Regions from separate parts of the Homo sapiens genome. Here all the other regions are linked to region 2. Evidence: promoter capture Hi-C in 16 types of primary human blood cells and fetal thymus (Javierre and others, 2016). All regions are on one chromosome and are shown on one strand. The core of a region is centred on a gene start or on the middle of the fragment in contact, and the rest is flanking DNA. Distances in the headings are between cores, read along the strand shown.

Region 1 (4,102 bases), core at 631-3,130, 210 kb after region 2:
ACACCTTGATGATTTTAGGCTTAAACGAGGAGGAAAAGGGAGTACTGGAAGAAATCTCCCTATACCTAGGGGTCCAGTAGTTTGACAAAAAGGAAGGAAATTAGAGGCAGAGCAGGTAAGTGTGAGTAGGAGTTAGAGTGCTGCGTTCAGGTTCTGGCTCAGCCACTCACAGTGCGGCCTGGTCAAGCATTGAGCTGTTCTCTGTCTTAGTTTCTCCATCTGTAGCATGGAGTGGCCATTCCTGCTGACAATTTGCCACCTGAGCCTGCTGTGAAATGAGTGGAGTGATATTTTTCTGACTCTTCCGGGGTCTTCTACCTCTGTCTGCCCTTCACACTTTGGTGTTCCTCATGTTTGATCCTTTTTGTTTCTTTCCTGTTTTCACCCTGTAGTCCCTTGCCATCATCTTCAGGATAGAGGCCCAACTCTGGGCCAGGGCTTCTGAGGCCCTCTGGGCCTGGCTGTCCATCTTCACTCCGTGTGTTCCATCCTCCAAGCTTCTCCTGCTCTCTCGTGCCCATGTGCCTCTGGATAACTGTCCCTTCTGCCTGAAATGTTTCCCCTTCACTCACACCCTGTCCACTAGGCCAGCATCTACTCATCCTTCAAGAGTCAGGCCACGCTTCACCTTCTCTGAGGGTCTTCCCTGAGTGGCCCCTCACACCCTGCCATGCTGCACTGGGTGCCGCTCTTCTGACCTTCATCAGCATCTGTACTCCGCTGGCTGGTTTACTTGTCTGTGAGTTCTTGAGTATGGGGACTGTCTTGTGGTCATTGCTATTCCCTAGCACTGTTCCTGGCAGTCAGGAAGTGTTTATTAAATATATGAATGGGGCCTTTTTTCCCTTTTCCTGACTTGCCTCAGCTCAGGAAAAATGTTAAGATAAAAACTTGCAGAACCTACAAACCACTTCCTAAAATGAAGAGCCTCTGAAAGTACTATTGTTAAATTGACCGACACAAGTGGCTTCCAGGTCAGGCTGCCTGTGATTTCTCCTCCCCACTCCTTCTGATCCTCCACTCCAAAGTGCTTTGCTGGGTTTCTTCTGTACTTCCATAGTGCTTCTCCTGTAGCACTTCTGCATCCTTCTGAGTATCACAGACGTACACCTCCCTTCCACACCAACCCCATGAGAACAGGAGCGACATAGAGCTTCTTCATCTTTTTGTACGCATAGTGGGTATCATGCACATAGTGGGTATCTAACAGGTAATTGTTAAATGAATGGAATATAAAGAAGGTAAACTTCTGGGTCAAACAAAACCATTATTCAGTTTTTTTCTCAGTGAAGTCCTTTCCCCTATGATTACCGTTGCTGTCTCACATGTGTAGAGTGCTTCTAACTTTTCAGATGGCTTTCCCGTCCTTTGTCTGACTTCATGCTTATGTCTGCGCAAGCAGTGCAGTCTTATGATCCCCCTTGGTAACTTACTAGAATTCACTCAGCTAGTACCTGGAAGAACTAGAACTAAAATGTGTCTCCTGAGTATTCTGTCCCCATGATCAGGAATATTAGAAGAGTAGCAGACCATTCCCAAGCTGATTGGATCACGGAGTTTCACTTTGCTAAGGTGTGTTGACACTAGCAGGTTGGTAGTGAATCACAGGGAGTTGACAGTCTTCACACATAAGTGATAGAGGAAGTCCTTGTGTCCTGCAGACCTCTAGGTGTTCTGTAACTGGCTCAGCTTCTTCCACCTATGGGGCCCCTGCCTAAGGCAGCCTCATCACTCATGTCCTCTGTGACTTTGGACACACCAAGCTTTTCTTCCTCTGTGGAGAGCATAGTAATGCCTTGAAGACAGGGGCCCTATAAAATGTCTGTGAGATTCTGTATGTGAGCTTGCTCTTATTTCAGGCGTTTAATGAGAGGAGAAGGATTTCTTCCAGATCTTGGAGCAGTCAGAAAGAGTCAAGTGTCTTGAGTCCCACAGCTACTTAGTCAGAGGTGTTATATGTATTATACTCTTTAAGGAAATCTGTCGGAGTAAGCTTTAGAGTCAGCTGTTAAACCTATTAGAATTGTTTTCCCAAACTCATGATTTTGGTGGCTAATCCATCAAATAGGGCCCAGTATAGTGTGATGCACATACATGGTGCTCAACAAATATTTGTTGATTTAATGCTTGTTCAACATTTATAATGTGCAAAAGTCTGTGCTAAATGTTGAGGAACATTTAAAAGACTTGCATGAGTCGATCTCTATCTTCAGCCGGTGTATGGAAAGTGCTAGGGATTCAAAAGGACAGCCGATCACTAAATGTCAGTATGGCATCATCAAGAAAGACTTGAAGCAGATGTAATTTTAACTGAACCTTGACTTAGCAAATACGTGCTGTTTCAGTGGGAGGGAGAGAAGGATCCAGGTAAGAAGCATGGCATGAAAAAGGTGTGTGGAGTCAGAATGCGTCAAGAGTGTTTGTGCGGACTGTCAGGAGGCCAGCTTGGAGGTGGTAAGTAGTGGTTTGGGTAGAGGCTGCATTGGGGAGAATTGGCACTCCACCTCAGGGCCACGTTATATAGTGCTTTCAGTGCCATGCTGAGGACTTGAAATTGAGCCTAGGCTTTTGGAAATTGAAGGCTTTTGAGCAGGGAAGTGGCATGGCCAAAGCAATGATTTAGTCAGATTATTTTGGCAGTGGCCTGCAGGATAACTCAGAAGAGAAAAAATGGAGCCAAGGATGCTAACTTGGACAATAGTTTCCTTTTTTTTTTTTTTTTTTTTTTAAACAAATCGGGGGGTCTCACTGTTGCCCAGGCTGGAGTGCAGTAGTGCAATTACAGCTCACCACAGTCTCAAACTCCTGGGCCCAGGCAATCCTTCTGCCTTAGCCTCCTGAGTGGCTGGGACTATAAGTGTTAGCCACCACACCTGGACTAGTTTCCACAATTTTTTGAACACAACTCACAGTTAGAAATACCTTTGATATCACAACTCACACACACACACACACACACACTTATACTTGAAATAAAAGTTTGACACAGTATGTGTGCAATGCACTCTGATATTTTCTATTATGTTCTTGTTCATGGTTTTTCGTTTTTTGAGACAGGCTCTTGCCCTGTTGCCCAGGCTGGAGTGCAGTGGTGCCATCTCAGCTCACTGCAACCTCTACTTCCCGGGTTGAAGCGATTCTCGTGCCTCAGCCTCCCAGATAGCTGGGATTACAGGCATGCACCACCATTTTTTAGTAGAGACTGAGTTTCGCTATGTTAGCCAGGCTGGTTTCTAACCTCTGGATTCAAGTAATCCACCCGTCTTGGCCTCCCAAAGTGCTGGGATTACAAGCATGAGCCACCGCGGCCAGCCTTGTTTGTTTTTTTAAAGAATGACCCACCTCAGTTGACTTTTTTTTTCTTTTTTTCTTCCTGAGGTGAGTGCATATGATTTTTTAATTTCATGACTGATTTTGATCTATGTATATAATGGAAGACTGTGTAGCAGTTTAAATGACCTTTGAGTGATAGATGTTCTGCAAAGACCTCAAGTTTGAAAACCATCTGTCTAAGAGTATCATTACAAATACTCAGACGATAAGCTAACACCTTTGACTCCAGCAACTGAAGATAGGGTTACTTGTGTATTTGGTTGTTTCACTGGGTTAATAAAAAATAACAGAAGGGGCAGCTGTAAAGAACACTGGCTGAGTTCTTTATAAGAACTTATTCCATAGATTTGAAAACTGTCAATTGCTTTCCAGAAAAGAAAACCCAAGTGAACAAAAGCTCATGTAAAGATGTTTGGTCCTATTAGTAATCAGGAAAAACAGATTAAACCAACAATGAGATGCTGTTTCACAGCCATCAGACTGGCAGAAATTTTAAAGCCTGACAATGCCAAGTATCTGAGGGTGAGGAATAGTAGGAATTCACATACACTGCAGGAGGGGGTGTATATTGGAGATTTTGGAGTTGGAACAGTGGCTGTCCCCTACCCTAGAGAAACTCCCATACCTCCATGCAGCAGGGGACACATGCCAGGAGTGTGAGGGGCATCGTCATGTGCAGATGCCCAGCCTCTGGAGAATGGGGAAATAAATTGTGATGTCTTTACATGATGATATGTTATGGGCCGGGCGTGTTGGCTCACGCCTGTAA
Region 2 (4,241 bases), core at 565-3,064:
ATTGCATTGCTGCTGCAGATGTTTGTTGAATTACACAGTTTTATTTTCAAGCGTGTGTGTGCCTTAAGGCCTGAAATCACACCTCCCCCGGTGTGAAGCACCCCTGGGCAGGCTCCCTGTCCTCCCCGACCCTCGACCCTCGTGGGATAACGTGGTGACAATAGCCCGGTGGTAGTCCTGGCTCTGCCTCCAATTAGCTATATGGGAATGAGCCTGTGATCTATCCTATCTGGACCTCAGTTGCTTCTGTAGATTGAAGAGCTGGAATTGGAAAATCTCAAGGTTCTTTCCCTCTTTTGATGTTTCTTGGAGTCAACATTCCTTTTGAGAGGTGTTCTTCTCTCCCCACTGGCTTGAAATCTCATCTCTGCTACTCACCAATTCATGCGTTCACAAGACGTTTACTGAGTGCCCTTTTTTCGGCAGGTCCCATTGTGAGGCTTGAAAGTACAAGGGTGACTAAGATATAGTTCCCACCTCTGGGGCGCTCACGGCCTGGTGGGATAGGCAGTCCAGAAGCAGACATGTCGCAATGCAATATGTTGAGTGCTGTTCTGTCAACATTGAGAGCGTTGAGGCCACACTCTCGTTCTGTGGCCTCACACAGATCAGTTAAACCTCCATGTCTGGTCTTCATCGTCACTGGGGATATTTGCTTCCCTTCCTAGCTGAGATCTATTCACTGTGAGTGGGCTCTGAGATGAGATTAGGATAGAGCATAGTAAAATGTTTCCCATGGGGAAGGGCTTGTCCTCTCTTTCAGTCTCTAAAGAGATGAAGGAACACAGAGGAGATACCACCCGCCCCATAGCCACGCTAAGCTGGGAACAAGAACTATAATTTTTAGCTCATCCCCCTACCCGGTGCTCTGTGATAAGAAACCAGCCCAACATCATTCTGGATGCCCTCTTCCAGCCTCCAGGGTCTGCCCGTGGTGGCTTAACTGTGATGACAGTTAAAATGCAAGAATACTTTCAAAAGGAGGGCTATTTTCCCCTTGGCATCCAGCTTGGCCTAGACATCCAGTTTGCTCTCTGTTCCCTGAGCTCCAAGCCTCCTCTCTGATGAAGCCAGGGAATGCACCCCTGTTTGGAGATCCTGTGCTCTGCCGACTTGCTCAGGCTGGCCAGTAGCAGAGTCCGAGTGAGCATCCCAGAGGAAGGAGGCCAGAGTACCCAAACCCAGAGGTGCCAGGCCCGGAGAGGGAAGCCCTCCCCACCTGTCTGCGCTTTGTGATTAGATATGAGCAATAGGGTAACTCACAGGCAGCAATCTCAGTCACTTGGTGTGTCAGGTAAACTGACGGGCAGAAAAGTGAGAAAGCACCACTTGGAAACCCAAGGCCACTGCCACACGGCCGGGTCCTGCCACCTCTCAGAGCCCTCCCACTGAGCATGCACTGACCCTCCACCCTCTCCCGCAGAGCCCATGCTGGTCTGACCTGCAGGATGTGTTTTCCGTAGAGGCCCCCAAATACCATCTTACCAGGCCAGTCCCCTACTATATTCTCTAACCTTAAATTCCAGGGATTCCGCCCCTCCCTCCCTCCCTCCCTCCCTCTCCCCCTCCCTCTCCATGCTCACCCTCCACCCCCTTTCCCTCAGGAGCTGCTCCTGTACCTGGAGTAGATTCACCTGCAAACACTCAGCTTGCAGGAGCACAGCAGACTGGGGAGTTTCCTTTCCCAGCCAAGCTGAGTTTGGAGGGGGGTGTGGGAGGAGGTGGGGAGGGCTGGGGACACAGGTTGAGTCTCTAAAGAATGAGGACTGCATTGCCTTCTTCCCTGCCTCCTGGTTACAGCTGAGAAAGTAACCAACTTCGTGTGTGTCTGTGTGTGTGTGTGTGTGTCTGCGCACGCGTGTGCAGTGTATGGATGCACAGACGGCCCCTCCATGGTGGGGTGGGGAGCCGTTCTCTCACCCTGCAGCTTTCTGCCTCTCCCTCCACCCTCCTCCGACTCCCTGCGTCCCACACTGCAGGTGTCTCTGAGGCAGTGTTTATGTAAGCAGCTCATGTTCTGCCGAGCGACAGCGAGAAGCTGTTGTCAATTCGAGGAAAGCCCCCGGCTGCCCACATGTGTGGTTGTCCCCGTGGGTTTCATAACAGGAGGGGGAGGTGGGGAGGTGGGGTGGTGGGCCCCTGGGGTGAGGGTGGCTGGGCTCAGCCCAGCCCAGGAGCCTCCTCCCCGCTGCCAACAGTGAGCCCGCCCGTGTGTTCACAAGCTGCTGGCCTCACCTCCTCTCCTCCCAGCTAGTTTCCCAGCCATTTGGCTACGGAGAGACAAAGTCAGTGCCTCCTGGCTCTGGCTGGCTCTGCCCAAGAATGTAGTACTTGGGTCGTGCTGGGCTACTGGAGTCAGGGCAAATAACCTGACATTTTGAAGGCACAAAAGTCCCAAGGACCTGCCAACCAACCAGGAGGTTGGTTTGATTCTGACCTCAGAATCAAAACATGGACCTGACGTTTTGATTCACAATAAGGACACGTAGCCCCATCATCTTTCTATTCCAAAGTCAGCTGTCCTCACCTGGACAACTGAGGACAGGGAGAGACTGGACAAAAAGGGCTCTTAGCCATTACAGTAGAAATGGCTGGGACACCTTATCCCTGAGGCTGAGGGCTGTTTGAGGATTCCCATTCAGCACAGCCTGGTTTGAGGAGGAAAGAAAAGACCAAAACATGGTGTCCACTTGATATGTTTATAAGGGTGGAATAAACTCCCTGAAACCCAAATCATAATTCAAATAGCTAATATATATGGAGTGCTTTTCTGATCCAAGCATCATGCTATGAAATGTACATTTCAGTCCTGGCAAAGACTTAATGAAGGAGGCACTATTAGCCTCATTTTAAAGATAAGGGTCCAAGGCCCAGAGAGGTTGAATAACTAGTCCAGCCTCACACAGCAGTTAAGGGAGAGGTTCTCCTTTCTACCCTGAACATTAACAGAAATGTGTTTACATTTTCTGGCTAACCAAGCCAGATTTTGGCTTTGCTCCAAGGAAGCTAATGTCCCACCTGAGAAGTAGCTTTGTTTAAACAGTGGAGAAAATAATTCCTAACTCATTTATTTACTTCTAATTTTACACTTCAAGTGCTGTTTATTTTCACAACAACACAAGCGCTATAAACATACACTGTCATCGATGAAGCACGTTTGTGAGGTGCCCCTGGGCTGCAAGTTGAGGTAGAGACAGAACATGTCATCACTGGTAGTGCCTTCATCACTGGATGGTGACCTCTCTCCTGAGTTTCTTGCTTTTCAAGTGCTCCCAAGTATTGTCCTGCCAACCCTCTCCTGGAATGAGGCCAAAAAGAAAATCCTGAGCACTGGAAGAATACGCTGGATACTGTCTCTTCTGGGTGGTTCATCCTTTCAGTCCTTCAACACACACTGGATGCTGTTAATTTCACCATGGGCCGTATGCACTGGTGATGCAGAAAGTGCTGAGATCTGATCTCCACCCTAGAGGAGGCTGGCAGAGCCAGTAGACACGCCACCGTTGTACGCATGGTACGTGTTAGCAGCTGCGGTAATAAGGGAAGAAGTGGTTGCAAAACAGGTGACATCTGTCGGCCAGGCCCAGTGGCTCACACCTGTAATCCCAGCACTTTGGGAGGCTGAGGCTGGTGTATCACTTGAGGCCCGGAGTTCTAGACCAGCCTGGGCAACATGGCGAAACCCCATTTCTACTAAAAGTACCAAAATAAGTCATGTGTGGTGGTGCATACCTGTAATCCCAGCTTACTCCAGTGGCTGAAGTGCAAGAATCACTTGAACCTGGAAGGCTGAGGTTGCAGTGAGCCAAGATCACACTACTGCACTTCAGCCTGGGCGACAGAGTGAGAGTCTGCCTCAGAAAAAAAAGAACAGGTGACATCTGAGCAGAATCTTGAAGCTAAAAATTCTAAATCTAGAAAGAGCATTGCCGGTAGAAGGAAGACTCAATGCAATACCAAGATCTGGAAAGACCAGGGTGCAAGTAGAAGTGTGGCTTGAGACTTCGCCGGGTTTCTGGACAGTGCGGGTGGGTGACGTGCTGGGTGACAGGCAGGAAGGGTAGGCTGGGGCCAGTTTGTGAAAGCCTTGGGGACTGGAACTAGACAACCTGGACGCTAATAATTCCCAGCTTCAGCCTTCGCAGACGACAGGGGACTAAGTCAAGACTAACTGTGAAGCGGGGTCCCAAGTGTTTACGTTAGAGACAAGAAGTGCCAAAGTTTGTAAGCAGTTTCCTCTT
Region 3 (4,051 bases), core at 1,389-3,888, 230 kb after region 2:
CACACCAAGATTTACCTATTGGAGTTTTTGTTCATAATAGAAGAAAAATTTGAAACGGTTGCAATGACCAGCAGTAAGTGATGAGGTTACAGAAATAAAACGAGTGGTACATTTCCATTATATACCTGAACCACTCATTTTACTTCCGTAGCTCTTAAAAATCAGGAGAGTGAAAATGATATATTCTCATATAAAACCATTCATGATATTTCTTTTACTTATTAATTTAAAAATTATATAAAATTTACATATGCACATGCACACACACATGTACACACTGTGATTCAGGATATTACTGTTAATTTTTTCCTTTGGGGGTGTGTGTGTGTGTGTGTGTGTGTGTGTGTGTGTGTGTGTGTGTGTTGTCCTTTGCGTTTTTCTATCTCTTCCAGGTTTTTAACACTGATCAGGTGCTATTTTTGTAGTCAAGAAAAAAACAAGGGTGTTTTTTTGTTTGTTTGTTTTTGTTTTTGTTTTTGGTTTATTTGAAAGAAAAATGTGGAAAGTGCAAAGAAGAAAACAGTAATCATATTCTCACCACCCAGAATTAGCCACTACCAACATTTGGCATATTTGCTTCAGTTTTTCTTACTGTAAATTTAAAAAATATAAATAGCAACACTGAAACATTAACCTTGGCCATCTTTTAGATGCGGAATCGTGGCTGGGTTTTTCCCTCTCCTTTTCCTCCCTTATACCCCCACCCACCCCATCCCCTTTTATTTCTCAAGTGTTCTGCAATGAGCACGTTTTTCTGTAATAGTTGTTTTAAAGTTACTGTTTCTCGTGTGAATACTTTACTTTTTAAGGAGATAAACTGTAATTAACTGTAAAGGGTAGAATTTTTTAAATGCCAAATAAGTCTTTGACGTTTAGAAGAAGGTGAGAAGTTTTCCTGGGAGCAGAGAAAGCATTCCATATAGGTGGGGTAGCCATTTGTCCTGGTTGCCCTGGGCAGTCCAAGTTGTCCTGATGACGTGTACTCCAAAATGTCCCAGTTTGGGACAGGAAATTATAAGGAGTCTAGATTTGGGGGATTAATGAACAGCCACTTGGCTGAATCATGGCAGTTGTACTGAGTGAATAGGAAAAGTAAGGTTGAGAACATATTACAGAAGCACATTGAATACTAATGTAAGTTCCTCCACTGATTCTAGGGCTGAGGCAGGAAATGTACAAGATGCACTTGGTACATGTCGTAGAGCTGGAAAGTAAGGAAATACACACACACACTTACATACATACATACATACATACATACATACATACATACATACATACGTTGATGTGGATATGTCAAAGGGACACAGAAGCCAACTGAAAGAGCTGCCAGTGGTGAAAGCTGGAACAGTTTGAGCATCAAAATAATGTATTAGATTATAACCCAAAATATAAGATAAATATCTGTGAGTCCATACTGATATTGAATGGTTGAATAAATAAGAAATAGGATTCTGCATGATGGCTTCCTCCCAAGGAGTGCAGTAGGGAAAGGGAGAAGGGAGAGTAACTTCACAGTAGGAAGCTGAGAAAGATGACCTCAGCCTGGTGATCAAGGTTCACATCAGCAGGGTAAGGCATGTTGACATCGTGGACCCTGGGTATGATGTGGTGAGGATGGCTCTTCTGCTCTGTGATCTTCTACCCCAAAAGCCATAACTCCAGTCTAGTCAGGAGAAAAGCATCAGACAAGTCCAAGTTGGCATTCTGTAAAATGCCTGACCAGCACTTAAAACTGGCATGGTCATCAAAAGCAGGGAGAGATTTAGGAACTGTCACAGCCAAGCGGAGCCTCGGGGCACATAGTGACTGAAGGTGACGTGGGGACCTGGGTGGGATGCTGGAACTGAGAAAGGACATGGGGAAAACTGAGGAGGTCTGAAGAAAGGATAGTCTTGACTCTCACTGTTGGTTCATTGTTTGTGACCAATGTACCACACCAATATCAGATGTTAATAAAAGGGGAAACTGAGGGTGGGCAACATAGGAATTATGTACTTCCTTCACAATTTTTCTTTTCCTTTTTTTTTTTTTTTTTTGAGAGACGGAGTCTCACTCTGTCGCGCAGGCTGGAGTGTAGTGGCGCAATCTCGGCTCACTGCAAGCTCTGCCTCCCAGGCTCATGCCATTCTCCTGCCTCAGCCTCCTGAGTAGCTGGGACTACAGGTGCCCGCCACCATGCCCAGCTAATTTTTTTTTTTTGTATTTTTTATAGTAGAGACGGCGTTTCACCGTGTTAGCCAGGATGGTCTCGATCTCCCGACCTCGTGATTCACCCGCCTCGGCCTCCCAAAGTGCTGGGATTACAGGTGTGAGCCACCACGCCCGGCCTCACAGTTTTTCTTTAAAACTTTTTAAATGTGAAGGATTTTTTTAAAGTGTTCTAATAGGGCTTTTGAGCAGGTGAGTTGAAAAATAATCAGAACAGTATGATAGGTCTCTGTGATCATCAGTAACTGTGGTGAAAATACAAGGAAAGAGCTGTTCCGTCTGCGTGGTGTACATAACCTCTTATTGTGCCAGAGCACCCAGTTCAGCACGAACGTCCTCCCATTCACTTCCAGACCCTTAAGAACAATGAGCCCCTTGGAATTCTGTAGGACTTTGAGACTAGGTGTTTTCATCACATACTTATAACAAATTCATGTGAAAAGAGTATTGAACTGTGGGTAGCAGAGAGAAAACTGGGCTGGACACCAGGGGTGCTGGTTGCTTCTTCCTTGTTCTCTTGTGAGCCAGCAGAGTGACCCTGGGCTTGTCACTGAACCTTTCTGGATCTGCTTCCTCATCTACAAAAGGAGAGGGTTGAACTGGGGAAAAAATTTCTATGGTAACTTACAGTTCTAAAAATACCGTGATACTAAATTAAGGTTTAGAGGGAGGCTGTCACACCACAAATAATGGAATCTACGTTTCTGATTCTTGGTCCCTTGTCTACAGTACTAAACTCCAAGAATCGTTTTGAAGACCACTCTGAGACTTCTTTAGAATTCTCATCCTACTCCCCATATTCTTGGAGTGGAGATTCAGTTTAGAATTCCAGTTTTAGATAAGCTGAAGGGATTCCAACTCCTTTGTTTTATAGTTTAAGAAACTGGGCTCCAGAGAGATTGAGATTTGTTCAAATCACAAAATGAGTCGGAGGCAGAGGCCACGTTTTCTGATACCGGGTCGAGAGCGCTTTCAGCTGCAGCATGCTTCCCACAGAATACAGGCTGTCTGTCTGCAATGCCACTGGGACCTCATTTGCAATGTCTCCAGAGTGGTCCTTGCCACCAGGACCTCATTTGCACTGTCTCCAGAATGGTCCTTGAGGGCAATTGCTCACTGTCCAAAAACCATCCTGTCTGTCAGCTGTAATCCCTGAGAATGGGAAAAGTAACCAGGGTGTGGGGAAGGAACCCATCTCCCCGTGAACCTTTTCTGTTTAGGTCTGAGAAAGGAAGCAACAATTTCATTTTTTCTTTCCTTTTCATTTCCAGACCTTACCTTTCCTCCCTGGTTATTATGTAGTCAGAATTTATTTGTTTACAGAAGATGCGAATCAGCCAGCCCCCAAAGGGTTAACACTCCCAAATTATGGGGCTGGGTTAACAATAAACAGGATGTCCTCCAGAAATTAAATTTAAACCACTGTGACTCAGGCTGGCCCATCCCCTCCACTGGATCACTGTTTGGGGTCATTATCGGTGGTTAATTACACCCTTGGGTTTAGCAACAGTGTGTTGGTCAGTTTGGGCCAAAGGAAAGCAGGCTCAGGGAGAAGGGGGTGTGGAGGGAAGGGTGGGATGTGGGCCTGGTGGAGCGGGTCTGGTGCATTGTGGAAACGGGAGGTTTGAATGGAAGAGCCAAAAGGAGAGGGATGAGCATGGCTGGCTGAGAGCCCTCTGCCGGAGCTGATCGCAGGGATTCTTGACTCACTTCCTACCTGGGATCGGGAGTCTACCCTTTCCATAGCCATTGGGATGCACTTTCTAGCCTGGCCTCTTTTCTTCCTGGAGTTGGAGAATCATAGAATGCTCAGTGCCTCAAGGAAGCTCCTAAATTACCT

Evidence for each region. Contacts are between HindIII fragments. The CHiCAGO score rates a contact against its expected background, and 5 or more counts as called.
Region 1: a contact is called between a fragment that was not itself captured here and the fragment with the promoter of PEBP4-AS1 in region 2, in 6 of 17 cell types (M1 macrophages, M0 macrophages, megakaryocytes and 3 more). The highest score is 7.8, in M1 macrophages.
Region 3: a fragment that was not itself captured here is called in contact with the fragment with the promoter of PEBP4-AS1 in region 2 in 6 of 17 cell types (endothelial precursors, M2 macrophages, M1 macrophages and 3 more); the score reaches 9.8 in endothelial precursors.

The regions. Positions count from the first base shown.
Region 1 is chr8:22,662,067-22,666,168 of GRCh38, reverse strand. The region is part of intron 1 of BIN3 (bridging integrator 3); the gene reads left to right. Among named protein-coding and RNA genes, the nearest start is that of BIN3, 5.0 kb to the left of the region's middle. The HindIII fragment of the contact is 230 bases long and covers 1,766-1,995 here.
Region 2 is chr8:22,875,545-22,879,785 of GRCh38, reverse strand. It overlaps PEBP4-AS1 (PEBP4 antisense RNA 1), which reads right to left and starts at 1,814. Exons shown (of 4, transcript NR_125433.1): 1 at 1,635-1,814. The region is part of intron 3 of PEBP4 (phosphatidylethanolamine binding protein 4); the gene reads left to right. RefSeq lists a silencer at 2,162-2,231. The HindIII fragment of the contact is 10,906 bases long and covers 1-4,241 here.
Region 3 is chr8:22,646,125-22,650,175 of GRCh38, reverse strand. All of the region lies in intron 1 of BIN3 (bridging integrator 3), which reads left to right. Among named protein-coding and RNA genes, the nearest start is that of BIN3-IT1, 5.9 kb to the right of the region's middle. The HindIII fragment of the contact is 5,709 bases long and covers 1-4,051 here.